2 separate regions of the Homo sapiens genome follow, and region 2 is linked to region 1. The links are contacts of gene promoters, found by promoter capture Hi-C in human tissues and cell types (Jung and others, 2019). All regions are on one chromosome and are shown on one strand. Each heading gives the region's core, a stretch centred on a gene start or on the middle of the fragment in contact. The rest is flanking DNA. Distances are from core to core; before and after follow the strand shown. Region 1 holds the start of CHRNA5 (cholinergic receptor nicotinic alpha 5 subunit). Region 2 overlaps MORF4L1 (mortality factor 4 like 1).

Region 1 (5,682 bases), core at 2,340-4,839:
CTGCCATCTGGAGAGTGTGTTGGAGGATGCAGGGAAGGAGACCCAGTGAGAGGCTGGGGCAGGAGTCTAAGATAGAGATGCATTTGAATAAACTAGGAGTGGAAAGGAGATACAAGAGATGGATTCAAAATAAATTCAAGGCTGGCCAGGCACGGTGGCTCACACCTGTAATCCCAGCACCTTGGGATGCTGAGGCAGGTGGATCACCTGGAGTTCGAGACCAGCCTGACCAACATGGTGAAACACTATCTCTACTAAAAATACAAAATTAGCTGGGCCTGGTGGCGCATGCTTGTAATCTCAGCTACTTGGGAGGCTGAGGCAGGAGAATCACTTGAACCTGGGAGGCAGAGGTTGCAGTGAGTTGACATCGCACCATTGCACTCCAGCCTGGGCAACAAGAGTGAAACTCCTTCTTAAAAATAAATACATAAAAATAAATAAATAAATAAATAAATTCCAGGTAAATAGCACTTAGAGTTGAATTAGACTCGGTGGGTGAAGCAGAGGGAGGAACTCAGGATGACTTCCAGTTTTCTAGCTTGAGTAATTAGTCAGATGGTGGTATCATTGATTGAGATGGGAAGGCTAAGAGGATAACATGGTTTGGAACATCTTAAGTGACATAACTAAGTGATTATGATGTAAAGTACATAGTCAAATACACTGGAGCTCAGAGGTGAGATCAGCACCTATCTGAGTATGAATCTGGTCATCATCAATATATGGATGGTATTTACAGCCAGGGAAGTGAATAAGATCACTGAGGGGGGAAGTTTACAGAGACAGAATAGGTCCCAGATTTGAGCCTCTGGAATTTCCAACATGCAAAGCCTGGGTAGAAGAGGAGGAACCTGCCAAGAGAACTGAGAAGGTGTTGGCCAAAACAAGGATAATAAAAGTACCACTCCTGTAATATTGATACTAAATGAACTAGCATATTAAAACGTGTTTAAATTCTTACAGTCCCCATTACTTAGCAGTGTTAAGATAATTGTTAAATTCTACTTTCTATGGCAAGGTACTGACTGGCAAGTAGGTATTATAAAGGTGAACAAGACATAGCCCCGCTGGGTATGGTGGTTCACACTCCTAATCCCAGCATTCTGGGAGGCCGAGGTGGGAGGATCTCTTGAGCCCAGGAGTTTGAGACAAGCCTAGACAGCATAGTTAGACCTTGTCTCTACCAAAAAAAAAAAAAAAAGAAAGAAACAAACAAAAAAATCAAAACTAAAAAAATTAGCTGGTTGTAGGGGTGCACCCCTGTAATCCCAGCTACTTGATAGGCAGGGGAGGGAGGATCGCTTGAGTTTGAGCCCTGGAGGTTGAGGCCACAGTGAGCTATCATCACACTGCTACACACTCCAGCCTGGGCAAGAGTAAAGCCCTGTCTCTACTAGGAAAAAAAAAAAAAAAAAAAAAAAAAAAAGACATAGCCTCTAGGCTGAGAAATCCACTATCTAGTAGAGAACATAATTATGGAGAAATAGATAAAGAGAAGGCAGGTGGCATTTGAAATGAGCCTTGAAGAAAGCGTGGGTTTGGATATTCAGAAGAGGGGAGAAGGAAGGATAAATGAAGACAGGAAAGTGTAATAAAAATTCCACAATCTTCAGAGGAAAAGGTGGTGTCTGGGATGCAAGAACTGTGTAATAGTCCCTTTGGCTAAGTCTCAGAAAGTTGGTAGATAGATGCCACTTTAGGGGAACTTTGTAGGTGGTGGCTGCAGCAACAGCAGCAATTTTCATTGTCATTTGGTCAGCTAATGTCTCCTAGCAGTGTGAAGATGCCTGTTATCAGAGTCAGGTGTAGCACCATATCCAGCAACCATGAGTAATTGGCGTATCCCCCTGGAAAAACCATGTAAGATGTAGACATTATATTCTGATTATTTGTTTGGATTTTAAAATGCCCAACAAATGTCACGCTTTGCCTTTCACTTAATAGCAACAATTAATAGTGTTTTTCATAGATTATGTAAATAACCATCATTCTCATGATTATTGATATAACATCTAGGAGTTCCAATTATACTTGCAGTGGCTGCACTGACAACCATTTCATTCTAGTTTTGCCACTGACAGGTACTGTGACCTTCAGCAGTTATTCAACTCCTCTGTTTCAAATCAGTTAGCTGTAAAAGCAGAATAACATTTTAAAGTCATCCAAACACTGTTAGGATGAATTGCATAAGTGCCTGTAAGTCCCATAAATTCTTCAGAGTAAAATGTAAATTTGCAGTGAAAGGATGATAGGTACTGTCTTTCATTTCTGTGCAGAAGTGCAATTAATTACTAATCTGGTTAACATCTTGTGCATCCCTTTTCTGTGGCCCCTTTGTTTAAGTCCTGTTTAAACAGATTGGCTCCATTGGATGTAATTTACATTTTTCCAGCTGTATTTGGACCTAAGAAGAGCATCTTCACTGAATTTTGCTGTTTAGATTCTTTGCAACCAGGTTTAGTTTTTCACAGATTTACTAGTCTGGAGGGTGGAGTGAAATTTTTGCTCACAATGAGTCTTAGAGGTGTCACCTCCATAAAGCGTTCTGTGAAGAGTCAGCGGCTCCCTCTGCCACTGAAGTTTAAAGATAATTCGCCTGAATCCCTTCAGCCAAATGAAGCTTTCTAATTATGGACAGAGAGGATGAAATATAGGGTCTGGAGGGATTTGAGACGGGTTTCCAGCAGTCGGCACCAATCTCCACCAGAGGTGCTAAGTGTCTGTAGCAGATAGTCACTAATATTTACAAATGTTAATTGATGACAACACGGAGGGCGATGCCCACGTTTGAGGCGACTGCATATCATTTCCGGGGATGGCTTGAGTGAGTGTCAGAGCTGTACCTTCCCGAGTCCTCTAGTTTATCTGCCTCGGTTCCTCGCTTCCAGACGAGGAAACAGGCCCAGAGAGGAAAGTGACTTGCCCAGGGTTGTCTCGCTGGTCCACAACACAGGTCTCCTGGTGGGGACCCCTTGGCTGACACGACAGCCCCAGGAGGCAGTCAAGCTGCGACTGGTACTTCCTGGTGAGAAAGACTTGAGTGGGCAGCGGGGCCCATGGAGAGCGCTGCAGCCTGGAGCAAGTCCCCCACCACTGTGATTCTGCCCCAGCCTCCAGCTTGTTTCTTTCTGATCACAACTCGGAATTACTTTATTTACATTTTCTATCAGCTGGGAGCAATCTGTCCCTCTGCTTCCCCTTTTGGTGCTGAGCACAGAGCAGACATCAATGAATAGCTGTTATCTTAAGGTGTGCAGTGACTAGGCCAAGGACATCCGGTGGTTAGAGAAGGACGCGCCTGCGATGCCAGCCTCAAGTCTTTGCCTTCCTGGAACTCTGCTCCAGGGTCGCACCTGCCCAAAGGAAGGCCTGGAGGCGGGGGCCAGGGCGATGGGGCTGGGCCAGGCGTGGAAAAAGAGGAGCTAGGAGCAGACAGGGTTGGACCAGAGGCGGGGCGGGGTGGGGAAAGGGTTGGTGGGGATCGGAGGCGGGGCTATGAATAGACCGGACTGGGCCAAAAGGAACAAGGCGAGGATTGGGCGGGGCCAGAGGGAAATAGGGGCGGGGCTAGGCGCCGGGAGCTTCCACATGCGTCCCGAGCCCGCCAGAAGCTGCTAGGCTGAGGCTGCTGTCCCGGCGGGAGCTGTGGCGCGGAGCGGCCCCTCTGCTGCGTCTGCCCTCGTTTTGTCTCACGACTCACACTCAGTGCTCCATTCCCCAAGAGTTCGCGTTCCCCGCGCGGCGGTCGAGAGGCGGCTGCCCGCGGTCCCGCGCGGGCGCGGGGCGATGGCGGCGCGGGGGTCAGGGCCCCGCGCGCTCCGCCTGCTGCTCTTGGTCCAGCTGGTCGCGGGGCGCTGCGGTCTAGCGGGCGCGGCGGGCGGCGCGCAGAGAGGTAAGCCCGGGCTGCAGAGGGGCGGGGCGGGAGCTGGCCCGGACTCCACATCGCGGTGCCCAGGAAGCCGCCAGGCGACGGCCGCCGGAAAACCTGGTTGCGAGGGGAGGTGGGTTTTTTTCTCCTGGGGGCTTGGAGTGAGGTTTCAGTTTAAATGTCCAGATTTGCTCATTTAAATGCAGAGAAAGGGCTACTTGGGTGGGTTTTCTTTGTTGTTCCACGACCTGCATCGCTGGAGACTACGAGGCTGGCTTAGCGTATACTTCCACACAACTTTTTCAGTAAAAGATGCCACTCTTGTCCAGCAGGGCTTTCCTGTCCTGGTGGCAGCCAAGCTTCCCATTTTGTTGCCCATTTACGGGATATAGAGACTCTGGGGTTCATTCTAGGGGTTGGGACTTATCTTCCACCTCCTGCCCGCCGCCTCTTCCTCCATCCCTGTCCCCTACCCACCGCAGCATTTGAAAACCTTTCCTTTCGCCGGAGATGAAAGGTGTGTGTTGTAGCAGGCTAGGCGGCCAACTTCCCTGGCTTCGGGGCTAATCGTTTGCATCCAGAGTTCCTCACTAGCTCCTTAGAGCACAGCTTTTTTCAGCCTGCTGTTTTTCAAGAGGTTTTGGACAGGAATGGAAACAACAAAAGAAATCGCGTAGTCCTACATGTTTCAAGTGCTTGGGAAAGTTTTAGAGTCAGTTCTCTCAATACCTTGAAGAAAAACACGTTTGTGGAGCAGCTATGGTGTGATCTAAACGTAGAAAAGCTAAGCATCCGTTAAGCAAGATATGATTACAGAAGTTCACTACGTCTGTATTTCAGGTTTTATGAGTGAGTTTCTTAAATAGTGGAAATATTGCAAGAACCTTTTCTTGCCTTTCCTTTGTTAAGGTTTTTAATCTATGGCTCCTGATTTTAGGAAGTAATAAGACTAGAATAATTCATTGCAGGATGTATTGCTTAGTGTAGACCGAAGAGAAATAAGATGGAGGGTGATTTAAACAAATGAAGAAAATCCTGGGCAGAGAGAGTTAAACAGAAAGAAAGGAATGTGATTTTGGAGCCAGGCAAACCTGTATTCAAATTATGGCTCTGGTGCATCCTGACTGGACGAACTTCTCTCAGCTGTTTTCCTTCTTTAAGAAATGGCGGGCCGGGCGCGGTGGCTCACGCCTGTAATCCCAGCACTTTGGGAGGCCGAGGCGGGCAGATCACGAGGTCAGGAGATCGAGACCATCCTGGCTAACACAGTGAAACCCCGTCTCTACTAAAAATACAAAAAAATTAGCCGGGCGTGGTGGTGCGCGCCTGTAGTCCCAGCTACTCGGGAGGCTGAGGCAGGAGAATGACGTGAACCCGAGAGGCGGAGGTTACAGTGAGCCGAGATCGCGCCACTGCACTCCAGCCTGGGCAACACAGCGAGACTCCGTCTCAAAAAAAAAAAAAAAGAAAAGAAAAGAAATGGGGGTAATAATCATGCTTACCTCTCAGAGTTCTTTTGAGGATTAAATAATGCATATAAAATGCCAGGCACAGTGCCTGACACTCGAGAAAATGGTAGTTCTCTACCCCTTTTGATGAAACTGAACTTTAAAAATCTGTTTCATGTCTTTTAATATAGAACACTGTAGCCAAGCATTAAATAGTGTAAATAGCTATCTCCCTTCATGCATGGTGTTCAGTGTTATAACAAAGTGAAATCGATTAGTTCCTGCTTTCTGCCCCACTTAGTTAATATCTCTCTCATAATAACCATCTGGTTCTATTGCACTTCTGTTTCCTCCTGCTTCCAC
Region 2 (5,682 bases), core at 1,533-4,032, 330 kb after region 1:
TTTACTAAAGTGTTCTTGGTTTGCTTTTCTTTTTTTTTTGTCTTTGAGACAGGGTCTCTGTCACCAAGACTGGAGTGCAGTGGTGCAATCAAGGCTCACTGCAGCCTTGGCCTCCTGGGCTCAAGCAATCCTCTCACCTCAGCTTCCCAAGTAGCTGGGACTATAGGCGTTTGCCAGTATGCCCAGTTAATTTTTGTATTTTTTATAGAGAACAGGATTTGCCATGTTGCCCAGGCTGGTCTGGAATTTTGAGCTCTAGAGATCCACCCCCTCTTCACCTCCCAAAATGCTGGGATTACAGGCATGTGCCACTGCGCCTGGCTTGGTTTATTTTTTTCTATTATGTGGAGAGAGATGGGAATTTAACCAACTATCAATAAAAATCCTTGTGTCTGAGTAGGACACATATTTACCACCTGATCCTTTATCCAAGTTAGTATTTCTCTGTGAACTTAACCCTGATAAAGGGAGTTGAAACAGAGGCAGTTTTACTGGAAATAATTATTTTTCTTTTTTTTCTCTCCTTTTAGGAAAACGAAAAAGAACAAACAGAAAAGTAAGAATATTAACTTTCTTAACGTTAATTTATGTTACCTCTATGACATTGACGTTTTTATTTTGAAAGCTATGAAATTTTGGAGTAAGCTTATGTTTATTGATTATCTCAAATAGGAGTCTCACAGCAGTGTTATAAAATAGGTACATGGTGGTAGAGACCTCTTTTTGCCAAGGAGAAACTTGTGAGCATTTATTTTCATCTGCTTTAGTCTTAATGTCTCCCACTGAGAAGATAACATTTATAAATAAATGGAAGATGGTGATACTAAATGTTGTCTATACTAAATGTTCGGTAGAGCTCTTCATGAAAGTTGTATTTTTGGTAGGAATATGATTCTTTAACTTAGATTGAGGTAACAGCTGTGTAATGGAGAAATAATGAAAAGGGTTAATGTGTCAAGAGACTATTTTCCTTATAGAGTTTGTTAAATTAGCTAAATGAGACCCCTCCCCGCCAACATTTACAGCACCTGGAAATGGAGATGGTGGCAGTACCAGTGAGACCCCTCAGCCTCCTCGGAAGAAAAGGGCCCGGGTAGATCCTACTGTTGAAAATGTGAGTTTTTCTTGTGTTTATGAATAGCATGTTAGGATTTTTAGTCTCAGTTACATGACATAACCATGGGAGCTTTGATTATCTACAAGATTTGCTTACATGGTTAATACCTGAAATTAAAAATTTTCTCTTTTGGGGGTAAAGGATAAATTTCTGTATATCTTTATTTCACCTGTAGCTCCAGATTTACCTACCCAATTGATCATTTGTTGTGTAAGCTTCATGTTCACCTACAAGACTATTTCTTTGGTGTTACGTATTTATTTTTAGGAGTTAAAGATGTACCTTTAAGATGGTTGTGTTTGGAATAGTTTTGATATCCATGGTAAATAAGAAAATACTAAGTTAAAATGTATCAAGTCAGGGTGTTTCATTTCCTGAACAAGAGGAACCTTACTGAAGAATTTTTACCTTTACAAGAAAATGCACTAAATAGACTATAGTTCAGGTCAGATTCTTTTCTCCCAACAGCGAACCGCGTATGGTCGTTTTTATTAATGATTTTAAAAAATGACAGTACAGCTGTATGCTTGGCTACTTTAAGATTTATCCCTAGTGCCTCTAAAAGTCAGCTCCCCTCCATGTTTGGTATTTAGCAAGAAAGGTTAGGTTTTTAATACTCCTCCTGTTTCTGTTTAGGAGGAAACATTCATGAACAGAGTTGAAGTTAAAGTAAAGATTCCTGAAGAGCTAAAACCGTGGCTTGTTGATGACTGGGACTTAATTACCAGGCAAAAACAGGTAACTTGAAAAGCTACCCAGATTGTTAAGCTATATGATACATTCTTGCTAGCAAAAAAAGTTTTTAAAGGAAAATGTTATATTGACTTGAATTATTAAGGTATGACTGATAAAATAATATTTTAATTTAGAGGCTGAACACTTTAGAACTACTACCAGAAAGAGTAAGTTAGAAGAATAAAAGTTCACATATAAATTTTATGAGGTTATAATGATAAAGGTGGAAATAACTCATTTTTGGAGATTGCTAGGGCAGGAACTCGTTCTGAAAATTCATAAAGGTGAAGAAGCATATGTCTTACTGTCATTGCTAATGGTAGGCCATAGAAAGCACACACCACCACCTGCAAGGTATTCATGACCCTGAAAAGAACCTGAATCTTACTAAGCGCCTGGATCTATTGTTAGTTTGCAGGAAATAGGATGTTTAATGGAGTGACATGTTTGTCAATCGTTGAACTCTATAATTGAGAATTTTATAGGACAAATGAAGCTATTTGAACAAATGGCATAGGTAGGGTTAGGGATAGTTGGGGGAGATGATTAGGGACTGCTTGAGGATTATGAGACTTAAGAGACCTATCAGTCATATACAGTATGTGGATATAGTTTGAATTCTGATTTGAATCCTTTGGAGGGTTATGCAGTTACAGCTAAACTGCGAAGATTCAAGCATGGCTGTATCACTTATTATTTGTGAGTTTGGACAAGTTTCTTAGCCTTTTTGTGCTTCTGTTTTTGCATTTAATGGAATAATAGTTTGTATTTGACAATGCTGATGAGAGGACGAAAAGATAATTATTTTAATGCTTTAGACTAGATCTAGCAAATAGTATGCATAACAGTAAATGATGACTTGGTAGTACCACAAAGGCACATTCGTGTCTGTTATGTGTGTGTGACAGATTGACATTTTTAAAAGCTGTGCTGTTCTGTCTAGTAGAGTCTCATTTGGCTGTTTAAATATATAGATGCTCCATAACTTAGAATGGGGTTACATCGCAATAAACCCAGCAGAGAGTTGGAAAATTAAGTCCAAACCATTGTAAGTTGGGAACTGTCTGTAGTTTCTCAGCCACATTATCCATGTTTTAAGTGCTGAATAGTATCTTTCCTAATTTGAAATACTGTTACTGTTACCTGATCTTTGTATAAAAACTTGCCTGGTATGATTTTTCTTTAAAAAAGAGAGTGCTTATATTTAAGCATATTTTTGTCTTCATAGCTCTTTTATCTTCCTGCCAAGAAGAATGTGGATTCCATTCTTGAGGATTATGCAAATTACAAGAAATCTCGTGGAAACACAGATAATAAGTAAGAATATACATTTTTCAGATGACACTCAAAAGACATTTAAAAAAGTTTCTAAATAAGTCATCTGAAACTTGTACTGACTCCGAAACATTAATACCACCAGAAACTAGCAAAATAGAATTTCACTGCTTTGACACAGGAGTTGGCTGGCTGACTTTTTCTTAAAGGGCCAGATAGTAAATATTTTAGGTAAAATTTAAGCTATCATGTAGGTATTTGCATAACCATTTAAAATTTAACCATCTGAAAATGTAAGAATCATCTTAATTGCTTTAGTTTGTCAAACCCTGCTTTCATATGCCCTTTAAAAAAATCTCAGCTATGGTTCATTATTACTAGCTCAGCTTTTAATTCTTTAAATTGGTTGAATTATTCTCTATGTCAGTTATTTTTATTGACCAGTTTTGGAATATTTTTGTTCATTTATCAGGGAGTATGCGGTTAATGAAGTTGTGGCAGGGATAAAAGAATACTTCAACGTAATGTTGGGTACCCAGCTACTCTATAAATTTGAGAGACCACAGTATGCTGAAATTCTTGCAGATCATCCCGATGCACCCATGTCCCAGGTGTATGGAGCGCCACATCTCCTGAGATTATTTGGTAATATGTCATGTAGAAAATAATGGATTTTACTTTTTGGGGGGTCTTCTCTAAATGAATAAGAGGTAAAGTAATTAACTTTCCAAAACATGACTCCCATTTTAATTTGAACTTTTATCTAGAATGTTAAATAGCAAAATCTCTTTAGGAGCAAGAGTTTTAAAAATCGTGTATTTTATTTTATAATTTTTTTTTTTTGAGACAGACAGTCTCTGTTGCCCAGGCTGGAGTGCAGTGGTGCGATCTTTGCTCACTGCAACCTCCGCCTCCTGGGTTCAACAATTCTCCTGCCTCAGCCTCCCAAGTAGCTGGGATCACAGGTGTGCACCACCACATCTGTGGTAATTTTTGTATTTTCTGTAGAGATGGGGTTTCACCACGTTCGCCAGGGTGGTCTTGAATACCTGACCTCAAGCGATCGCCTATCTCGGCCTCCCAAAGTGCTGGGATTACAGGCGTGAGCCACTATGCCCGGCCTAAAATCATGTATTTTAAAGGAATTGGTGGTGTTTGCTCACATAATTAAAATACATGGTTGTAGTGCCCCTGCCTTGGATGTAACTTTGGATAAATTCTCTTGTTTAAACAGTACGAATTGGAGCAATGTTGGCTTATACACCTCTGGATGAGAAGAGCCTTGCTTTATTACTCAATTATCTTCACGATTTCCTAAAGTAAGTCTGTGCTTGAAATTATAAACATGGATTTGAAAATTAGCGTGTAATGGGAGGGATTGGCAGTATAGATGCTAAAACATTAAACATTATATTGGTACAGGCATAGATAGTTGGTAATGGAGCAGTAAAAGTAAGTGCAAACACATGGGAGTCTCAGAAATGATAGATGGTATATAGATGATATATTGGTGCAGTAGGGGAAAGCAGTGGAGTCTGGTAGATTGGTGATAAGACAGCTGACAGTTTGGAAGAAAACAAAGCCACACTTGTCATGTACCAAAATTCTAGATGAATCTGAAGTTTAAAATTAAATTGTTAAGATAATGAAAGGAGAAATGTAATATTTTCATAGTTCTATAGTGTTCCATTTATGATAAATGGTTGGTACCTTTAATACACACAGAGTTCTTCGGTAAGAAATGAACAAACCAGTGAAAAGTAGGACAGGAAATTTACATCAATGGCAGCACAAAGGACCATTAAAAATATGTCAGAAATAATGATGAAAGTATAAACTGTCAGTAAAGTAGCACTTGTCAGATTGGCTAAGGTTTAAATGTTTGAAGAAATGGAGAAAAGGGCAATCCTGGTTTCTACAAGTTTTTGGAGGGCATTTTTATAATAGTGAAGAATTTGAAACAAGCACTTATTAAAAGGGTGAGGTCACTCTAAACATACTGATAAAGATGTCCATGTTTTCAATTGAAAAACAGCCAAGCTGTAGTAGAGGAGTATGGTGTAATTGTTACTTGTAGAGAAACATTATTTTAATCTTTGCATAAGATCTGGCTTTCCAATGTGGATCTTAGTTAATACTGGGTTATTTCTTGGGCGTGGTGTTGGAAGGGAGGGTGGGAGTTTTCAGTTTCTACTTTGTATACTTCTGTATATGAATTTTCTCATTACAATCGTTTTACAGTAAATTTAAAACTGCAACGTGGACTTGAGAATGTAGGCAAGATTTATCATCTTTTCTTTACTAATGATAAATACCTTCTTTGGACCTCAGTTTCTTTATGGAATGTGCTCTACTACTTGACATTTCACGTTCCCTTTTATGTAATTAAAAAAAAAAAGTTTATTCATTTAGAGATGGAGTCTTGCTCTGTCGCCCAGGCTGGAGTGCAGTGATGCGATCACAGCTCACTACAACCTCCGCCTCTTGGGTTCAAACGATTCTTGGGCCTCAGCCTCCCAAGTAGCTGGGATTACAGGTGCACACCACCATGCCTG

Evidence for each region. The method cuts DNA at HindIII sites, captures the fragments that hold promoters and counts their contacts. A contact is called where the count stands out against the background at its distance.
Region 2: a fragment that was not itself captured here is called in contact with the fragment with the promoter of CHRNA5 in region 1 in 2 of the 25 tissues and cell types used here (dorsolateral prefrontal cortex and spleen).

Annotation. Positions count from the first base shown.
Region 1 is chr15:78,561,931-78,567,612 of GRCh38, forward strand. It overlaps CHRNA5 (cholinergic receptor nicotinic alpha 5 subunit), which reads left to right and starts at 3,590. Exons shown (of 6, transcript NM_000745.4): 1 at 3,590-3,895. The coding sequence starts at 3,790. RefSeq lists an enhancer at 2,788-2,977 and a silencer at 3,788-3,877. The HindIII fragment of the contact is 8,456 bases long and covers 455-5,682 here.
Region 2 is chr15:78,890,459-78,896,140 of GRCh38, forward strand. It overlaps MORF4L1 (mortality factor 4 like 1), which reads left to right. Exons shown (of 12, transcript NM_006791.4): 6 at 531-556; 7 at 1,026-1,114; 8 at 1,754-1,855; 9 at 3,081-3,169; 10 at 3,600-3,772; 11 at 4,362-4,446. Among named protein-coding and RNA genes, the nearest start is that of MORF4L1, 20 kb to the left of the region's middle. The HindIII fragment of the contact is 8,549 bases long and covers 1-5,682 here.